Linked DNA regions of Homo sapiens: region 1 is linked to region 2. Evidence: promoter capture Hi-C in human tissues and cell types (Jung and others, 2019). All regions are on one chromosome and are shown on one strand. Each heading gives the region's core, a stretch centred on a gene start or on the middle of the fragment in contact. The rest is flanking DNA. Distances are from core to core; before and after follow the strand shown. Region 1 overlaps SFMBT1 (Scm like with four mbt domains 1). Region 2 holds the start of ITIH4 (inter-alpha-trypsin inhibitor heavy chain 4).

What was found. The method cuts DNA at HindIII sites, captures the fragments that hold promoters and counts their contacts. A contact is called where the count stands out against the background at its distance.
Region 1: a fragment that was not itself captured here is called in contact with the fragment with the promoter of ITIH4 in region 2 in 2 of the 25 tissues and cell types used here (spleen and thymus).

Annotation. Positions count from the first base shown.
Region 1 is chr3:53,032,366-53,036,535 of GRCh38, forward strand. The region is part of intron 1 of SFMBT1 (Scm like with four mbt domains 1); the gene reads right to left. Among named protein-coding and RNA genes, the nearest start is that of SFMBT1, 12 kb to the right of the region's middle. The HindIII fragment of the contact is 7,750 bases long and covers 1-4,170 here.
Region 2 is chr3:52,829,200-52,833,021 of GRCh38, forward strand. ITIH4 (inter-alpha-trypsin inhibitor heavy chain 4) reads right to left here and starts at 1,473. Exons shown (of 24, transcript NM_002218.5): 1 at 1,354-1,473; 2 at 1-80. The coding sequence starts at 1,443. The HindIII fragment of the contact is 7,752 bases long and covers 1-3,822 here.

The DNA of each region.
Region 1 (4,170 bases), core at 989-3,488, 200 kb after region 2:
TCTCAGAAAAATAAAAATAAATAAAAATTGATATCCTTGGGATGGACAGAAGACCCATATGGGAAAGCAAGTGGAAAAGTGGTAGAGGTGGGCAGGGAACAAGAAACAAAGTATTGTAGGCCACACAAGAAGTTTGGATTTTATTCTAATTACGATGGAAAGCCACTGGCAGCCTCTAAGCCTGGAAATGACAAGATGAGATCTCATTAAACATAATCATTTCTTGTTTAGAACATAATACATTTTCAAATAGGAATAACATTATAAGTGGATATGTTGCAGTATTGCTTCCATGCATTCATTCAGCTATAATTTATTTAGTGTCTACTCTGTGCTAGGTTGTGTGCAAGGTACTAACTAGGAATAAAACAGCATCTCTGACCTTGAGTTCACAGTTTAGTAGAGATGAGAAACACTGAACAAACAATCACAATTGTAATATTTACAACAGTGGAATATGTGGAATGCTGTGAGTGCCCAGAGCAAAGGGTGGTTAATGCAACCTGAGGGAGTCCAGGAGGGAAGGCTTCACAGAAGCCCTGGGCCTTAAAGGACAAACAGGGATTTCTTTAGCAGAACATTCCCCCCACACCTAAGCCTCTGATAGAATACAAGAAAATTTGGGGCCTACCAAAGACTCTGCCTTTTGAAGTATTTATGGGCCAGGTGCAAGAGCTCATGCCTATAATCCCAGTGCTCTGGGAAGCTGAGGTAGGAGGATCGTTTGAGGCCAGGAGTTTGAGACCAGCCTGGGCAACAGAGCAAGACCCTGCTTCTACAAAATTTTTTAATAAAATTTGCTTTTTTTTTTTTGAGATGGAGTCTTGCTCTGTCGCCCAGGCTGGAGTGCAGTGGCGCAATCTCGGCTCACTGCAGTCTCCGCCTCCCAGGTTCCGGCAATTCTCCTGCCTCAGCCTCCCAAGTAGCTGGGATTACAGGCACACATCACCACGCCCAGCTAACTTTTGTATTTTTAGTAGAGACGGGGTTTCACCATGTTGGCCAGGCTGGTCTCAAATGCCTGACCTCAAGTGATCCACCCGCCTCGGCCTCCCAAAGTGCTGGGACTGCAGGTGTGAGCCGCCGCGCCCGGCCCAACATTTTTTTAATACTAACTTTTTTTGCAGCCATTTTTACCCCCCTCAACTACAAGCTTTTATCAAAATTTTGAAAGAGATTTTGAAAAAATTCCAAATACTCTCTACTTAGATTCAAAAATTTTAAATTTCCTAATTATCTTTCTATATACACAAAGATTTATACACACACACGTATTTTATGAGCCATCTGAAAATGCTGAGGATATCATACCTCACCCTCTAAACTCTTCAGCTTGCATCTCCCAAGAATAAGCACATTCTCCTTTATGTATAACTACAATGCCATTATCACACCAAAAAAGACAAAAAAAAAAAAAAAATCACCCTGGCGCAGTGGCTCACGCCTGTAATCCCAGCAGTTTGAGAGGCCAAGGCAGGCGGGTCACCTGAGGTCAGGAGCTCGAGACCAGCCTGATCAACATGGAGAAACCCTGTCTCTACTAAAAATAAAAAAATTAGCGGGGTGTGGTGGCGCATGCCTGTAATCCCAGCTACTTGGGAGGCTGAGGCAGGAGAACTGCTTGAACCCAGGAGGCGGAGGTTGCGGTGAGCCGAGATGGCGCCATTGCACTCCAGCCTGGGCAACAAGAGCAAAACTCTGTCTCCAAAAAAAAAAAAAAAAAAAAAAAAATCAACAATTCCTTAATATCATCTATTATCAGGTACTTCTTTTTAAATACAAAGGACTTTGTTGAAATTTTATTGAAGGAATGTGTTTTAATAAACTGGTTAGATTTATTACTTGCATTGCATTTTGACATTTTTAAAATGTAATAATACTTTATAAAATTTAAGTTAAGGAATCTTTCCTTGGCAAGATTCATCACTGGCACGGGCATGGTAGCTCATGCGTATAATCCCAACACTGTGGGAGGCCCAGGCGGGCAGATCACTTGAGGTCAGGAGTTTGAGACCAGCCTGACCAACATGGTGAAATCCCATCTCTACTAAAAATACAAAAATTAGCTGGGTGTGGTGGTGCGTGCCTGTCTATAATCCCAGTTGCTCAGGAGGCTGAGGCAGGAGAATCACTTGAACCAGGAGGCGGAGGTTGCAGTGAGCCAAGATCGCACCACTGTACTCCAGCCTGGGTGACAACAGTCTGTTTCAAAAAATAAATAAATTAATTAATTAAAAATAAATTTAAAAAATAAATAAAAATTAAAAACATATTAAAAGAATAATTGTGGGCCAGGCATAGTGGCTCATGCCTATAAACCCAGCATTTTGGGAGGCTGAGGCGGGCAGATCACTTGAGATCACGAGTTCGAGACCAGCTTGGCCAACACGGAGAAACCCCCATCGCTACTAAAAATATAAAAAATTAGCCAGGCGTGGTGGCACGTGCCTGTAATCCCAGCTACTTGGGAGGCTGAGGCAGGAAAACTGCTTGAACCCTGGAGGCAGAGGCTGCAATGAGCCAAGATCGAGCCACTGCACTCCAGTCTGGGCGACAGAGCGAGACTCTGTCTCAAAATAATGATAATAATAATTTTGGTAATCAAATATACCAAAAAGTGTGACAGCGGTCCATGTGAGACTGACATTTTGGGAGCACTGCCTTAGCAGAACAACACCCTAAGCGGATGGAACATGGCAGGAAAGGATTTACAGGAGAGTGGGTTGGTGAGGCTGCAGAGGCCATGAGAGAAGGGAATAAGCTGGACAAATGGACTGGGCCTGAGTGCTTCAAGGATTCCGCATGCCTTCCTGAGGAGTTTGGACTTTACCCGGCCAAATGTGGGATTTTATGTGACTAAAATCAAGTTTGTTTAGAAAGCTCTACTTGGCCTCAGTGCTTCAAGGATTCCGCATGCCTTCCTGAGGAGTTTGGACTTTACCCGGCCAAATGTGGGATTTTATGTGACTAAAATCAAGTTTGTTTAGAAAGCTCTACTTGGCCTCAGTGTAGCTGGATGGATGGGAGAGGTGGGGAAGGTAGGGAGACCATTTGGAAGCAACAGAACAAGGTTTGTATTTTTCACTGCTAATATGTAACATTTTAGTTTTATGGGTTGAATAAGCCTACTACATTGATAAATGAACAAAACAAAAACAGTAAAACTAAACAAAGTTTATCTTGAAAATGTTCATGTTGGTAGAATAGCAACTTTCAAAAGAGTCAGCAGAGACTTAAGTAAATTTTTTTTAAATGGAGTCTCACTCTGTTGCCCAGGCTGGAGTGCAGTGGTGCCATCTCATCTCACTGAAACCCCCACTTGCCAGGTTCAAGTGATTCTCCTGCCTCAGCCTCCCCAGTAGCTGGGATTACAGGCACATGTCACCACGCCCAGCTAATTTTTTATTAAAATTGATGGGGTTTCACTATTTTGGCCAGGCTGGTCTCAAACTCCTGGCCTCAAGTGATCCGCCCACCTCAGCCTCCCAAAATACTGGGATTACAGGCGTGAGCAACCGCACCCGGCCAGAGACGTAAGTAAATTTTGAAAGGAGCCCTTCAGCATTTTTGACAGTCTCAGCATTTGATGAAGCTCTTTTTAATATCTAGTTTCACTTTCCAAGGTGTCTTTCCTTTTCCTTGGCAAGGTTCATCACTGGCACTAGTTTTACATTTATCAGTCACAATCAAAATTTAAATTTCCAAAGGAAGGAAGTGGGGTACAGAATAGATAAAATGGTTTAAAACATAGAGCATGCCCTCAAAGCAGTGCTGACAGCAACTCTGAGGAGCTCCATTTATGCAGAATCCACTGGGAAGGCTGCCCCAAGAGCCAGCCGCCAGTCCTGCCTGGGAGGAGAGGGAAGCAGAGAATGTCCAGCTATCCTGCCGTGGGACAGGATGCTGGCCCTTCACCCCTACTCCACTAGGAGGACTCTCATTTTATTTTACTTATCGGGCTTCCTAGAAAGATTTCATTTGAACAAAGGGTTCCACAACTTTAAAAACACTTGAAAACCAAGGAGTCAGAACTGTACGTTCTAACTCCAAGGCTGGCAATTGAAGAATAAGACCTCAAGTCCCACAGGAAAGCTCCCAGTGGACAAAACAAACACCATCGCTGAGGAGCAATGTAAAGAAAGAGACCTGGGCAAACAGGCCCACTAGAGG
Region 2 (3,822 bases), core at 223-2,722:
ACTCGGCTGGTGACGACCGTGTGGGCAAATCGGGATGAGACCCTGGAGTCCACGGTGAGGCTGTAGATGTCGATGCCATTCTGGACCAGCAAAGAAGAAGGGGGTTGCAGGGTTTCAATGCCACCTCAGCTCGGGGTGACGCTCTTCAAGAGTTGGCCCTGACTCTGGCTCTAGACCAAACCCTGGCTCCCAATCTGACTGAGCCACTGACCAGGCCTCAGGCTGAACCCAGTGAGGCATCTCATATGTGAACATTTGTCTCAGGTAAGAGATAGCAGTGTGCTTCATTCCCCACCCTACAGCACCACAGGGCAGGGGCCACGTCCTTCTTGATCTATAGGGGCCCAGAGCACCCCTTGGAGAAGAACAAGCATGCAGGGGGTGGAGCTGGTGAAGCCAGGGCCAGTGTCTGGGAGGGGCATCACACTCAGCCTTTGGGCAGGGGTGAGAGACCTGGTGGGGTCAGGGAGCTTTGCATGCTGGCTTAGCTTTGCCCAGAAAAAGGGCAGTGACCAGGTCCTTTGATTTCTGGAGACTTTGGCCTCTGTGGCAACAGGGAAGCTCCCACCAGTCTCCTAGAAGGAAGCCCTCAGAGCTGGGAGAATTCGGAGGTAGACTAGAGTCTGGTCTCTGAGAGTTGGGAATCTTCCTCTCTGCTCCGCAGTGGACCCTCCCCAACTCATCCCCACTTCCGCAGGGCACTCCCCTAGCAGGTGCCATTTGCCTTGAGGTCTGTGTCCCCCGAGGAGGGGCACACGGGCACCTCTTACCTGCTTGTGTGTGACATGCTCATGCGCACTGCACCAACTCTGCTCGGCTGCATGCGGCTGCCTGAATGCAGTTTGGCACAGAGGTGCCAAGTGGCTTGTTTATGTGCTTGGGTATTTGCTCTGCGACAAGCACTGTCCTAAGCACTTCATAGATACAATGGGTTTGGTTTTCACAACAAGCACTGTCCTAAGCACTTTATAGATACAATGGGTTTGGTTTTCACAACCGCCACCCTCTGAATAGGTTCTAGTATTACCCTGTTTTACAGATGAGGAAATTGAGACATAGTCAGCATAAATCATTCTCCTGAGGTCACTTACTAAAAGGCGGTAGAGCCAGGCTTGTAAAACTGTATTTCCTCATTTGGAAAATGGAAATGATTGGATCATCCCCTCTATTAGGTGGGAGAATACCAGTAAGGCCCTTGGGGTAGTGCCTGGCGGGAGGTCTGCACCATTTTTTTGCACACACAGGGATGCACACGCACTTGTGCTGACACGCTGGCACATGCGGAGGCTCTTCCCCACTTCCCAGGCGTTCTCTCATCCCCCAGCTCACGCCACACCCATGGACACTGGCTACCTTTTCGGCAGTAGTAGTCTGGTGGATGGCCAGCAGTGAAAGCAGGACGAGAACTTTGCTGCAGGTACGGACAGGCCTTGGGGGCTTCATCGTGGCTCCAGTGTCTGCCAGGAGGCTTCTGAACTCGACAGCAAGTGGGGAATGGATTAGTAACTTGTTTGCTGCCCCACCCACATGGGGGCAGGTTCTGGGAAATTGGGATCTACAAGCCAAAAACCACAGTGACCTCAGATAAGCAAATGACGAACGTCCCATGGACCTTGGCTGGGGGCAGGAATGTATACCAAAGAAAGGTAGGCTCAGTTTGGAGTGGGGGTACATGCCCCTTCTGAAAAGTGCGAAACCTTCACCAGGACCCTTCACACCAGGCATTCCACCAAGCTCCACAGGGCTGGGAGGGAATTGACAGTGAAGATGTCAGTCTGCTCTCCCTAAGTCCAGCCCGGGGAGAAACAGCGGGGGATGGTGGGGAAGACTAGGGCTACAGGGCTACCCTAGCGGCTTCCCGGAAGAAGGGGGCTTGGCCACCAGGTAAGTGTGTCTGGCTGATGGGAGGGCCCAAAGGCATGGAGTGACTCTGGGAGGTGTCTGTGTGGGGCAGATCTAGAGTCAGGATAGATACGCCGTATTTCTGAAGTGAGAGGTGCTGGGCACGGGGCGCCTCCTTCTCTCTCCTGGGGTCCCAGGTTGCTGTTTGGGTGCCATTAATCTAGCCAGGGCTTTAGGTTCAACCCCAGCAAGGCCCCCAAAACAAGAATGGCAATACAACTGAGTCATAAACCTGCCACATCCTGTGGCACAGAGGTCTCCATGCGGGGAGTTTATTGACAGAAGAGCATGGAACAGAAGACAGACCTGACAGTGCCAGCAGCTCCTGAGGGGTGACTGGGGAGTCATTTGGTGGAGCAGAGGGAGCCCAGGAATCGCTGGTTGAGAGAGGGCAGAATGCTGTTGTCATGAGCAGTGTGATGCTGCCACAGCCCAGACCCAGGGGAGCGCTGCCCAAAGGCCTGGGGTGGGTCCCGGCCTTGCTAAAGTTGAAGCGCTCTGCTCCTTGTAAAGTGGGATCGAGTGAGTACATATTATGCGCTCTGGGCACCGCTGGGGCTCGTGTTCCCTGGTGGCTCTGGGGAAGCCAGCTCCTGAGTCTGTGGCCACAGATGGGTAAAGATGAGTCATAAAAGTGTGGCCAGATGCCAAGTCCTGGATCAGGGAAGGACGGCGGCTCCGTGACACCAGCCCTGAGGGGGCCAGCTGCCTTGGGAACCTATCGGGGGCCTTGGGGCAGCCAGTGGCTTCCAGAGGCTGGGGAGGGTTTCTCCACCAGTCCTGTCTCCATTAGAGGTGGCGGCAGGCCTGGGGCAAAGGTGCCATAGACTGGAGCTATTTCTACAGCTGCAAGGAAGACGTTCCCCTTCCTTAGCATGACTGGCCAGAAGCCTCATCTCTGCGCACGTCTCCACTGCTCACCCTTTTGGCTCTGGATACGATTGGGATTACACAGGGGAACACGCTCCTTTCAGTGTCTGGGGGAAGAGTCTCCCCATGGAGTCCAGCAAGTAGGACTGGGCCCTTCCTCACAGCAGGGCTGCTCCCTTGGGGCAGAGAGCACAGGCCCAGCCCGGACTCAGGGCTATATAAGGTGGCCAGGCTGGCCGGGACTGTGGGAAACGTTCTGGGCAGCCAGAACCTCCTGGGACAGGAAGGCATCCCCAGCAGGCATCAGCCCCGAGCCAGGCACCACAAGCCCAGGCTCTGCCAGTCCAGCTCCGAAAAGAGCCACTGTCAGCCTGTCCATGGTCATGGTCTTGCCATCACAACGGGACAGGCCTCTATGGGTCTTTTGAACCTGGCACTTCCAGGCACACAGGGGACAGAGGACTGGAGAGAGAAGGGTCATGCAGGCTGAGAATCTGGTGTTCCATGCCCCAGACAGCATGGTTGGAGCAGAATGTGGGAGTCTTACCCCTGCTGTTTGGAAGAGACGGTAGCTCAGGAAACTGACTGCCAGAGAGGAATCTCAATCTGGCTCTGACTTGGAGGGGACAAAAGCCGGGAGGAGGCAGTGTGAACAAAAGTGTAGGGAGGGAGAGGGGTTTTGAGGTCCCTAGTGCAGTGCAGGGAGAGGGGTTTTGAGGTCCCTAGTGCAGTGCAGGGAGAGGGGTTTTGAGGTCCCTAGTGCAGTGCAGGGAGAGGGGTTTTTGAGGTCCCTAGGTGCTGCAGAGCCTGCAGGTCCTCAGAGGCTTCTCAGCAGCTTCTGTGGAAGGCAGGAGGAGAGGTGGTCCCTGAGACCCCACCCACTTCACTCTGAGCAGTGTCATCATGGCCTGCTTTATGGAATAGACTCCAGCTCAACTCCCCTGTAGTATAAAAGGGGAAACTGAGGCTCAGAAAAGTCTGAAGTCACAGGTCAGCACTGAGTCTCCATGTCCAAGGCAGCATGTGGCAGTGCCCATAATAGCACCTGTG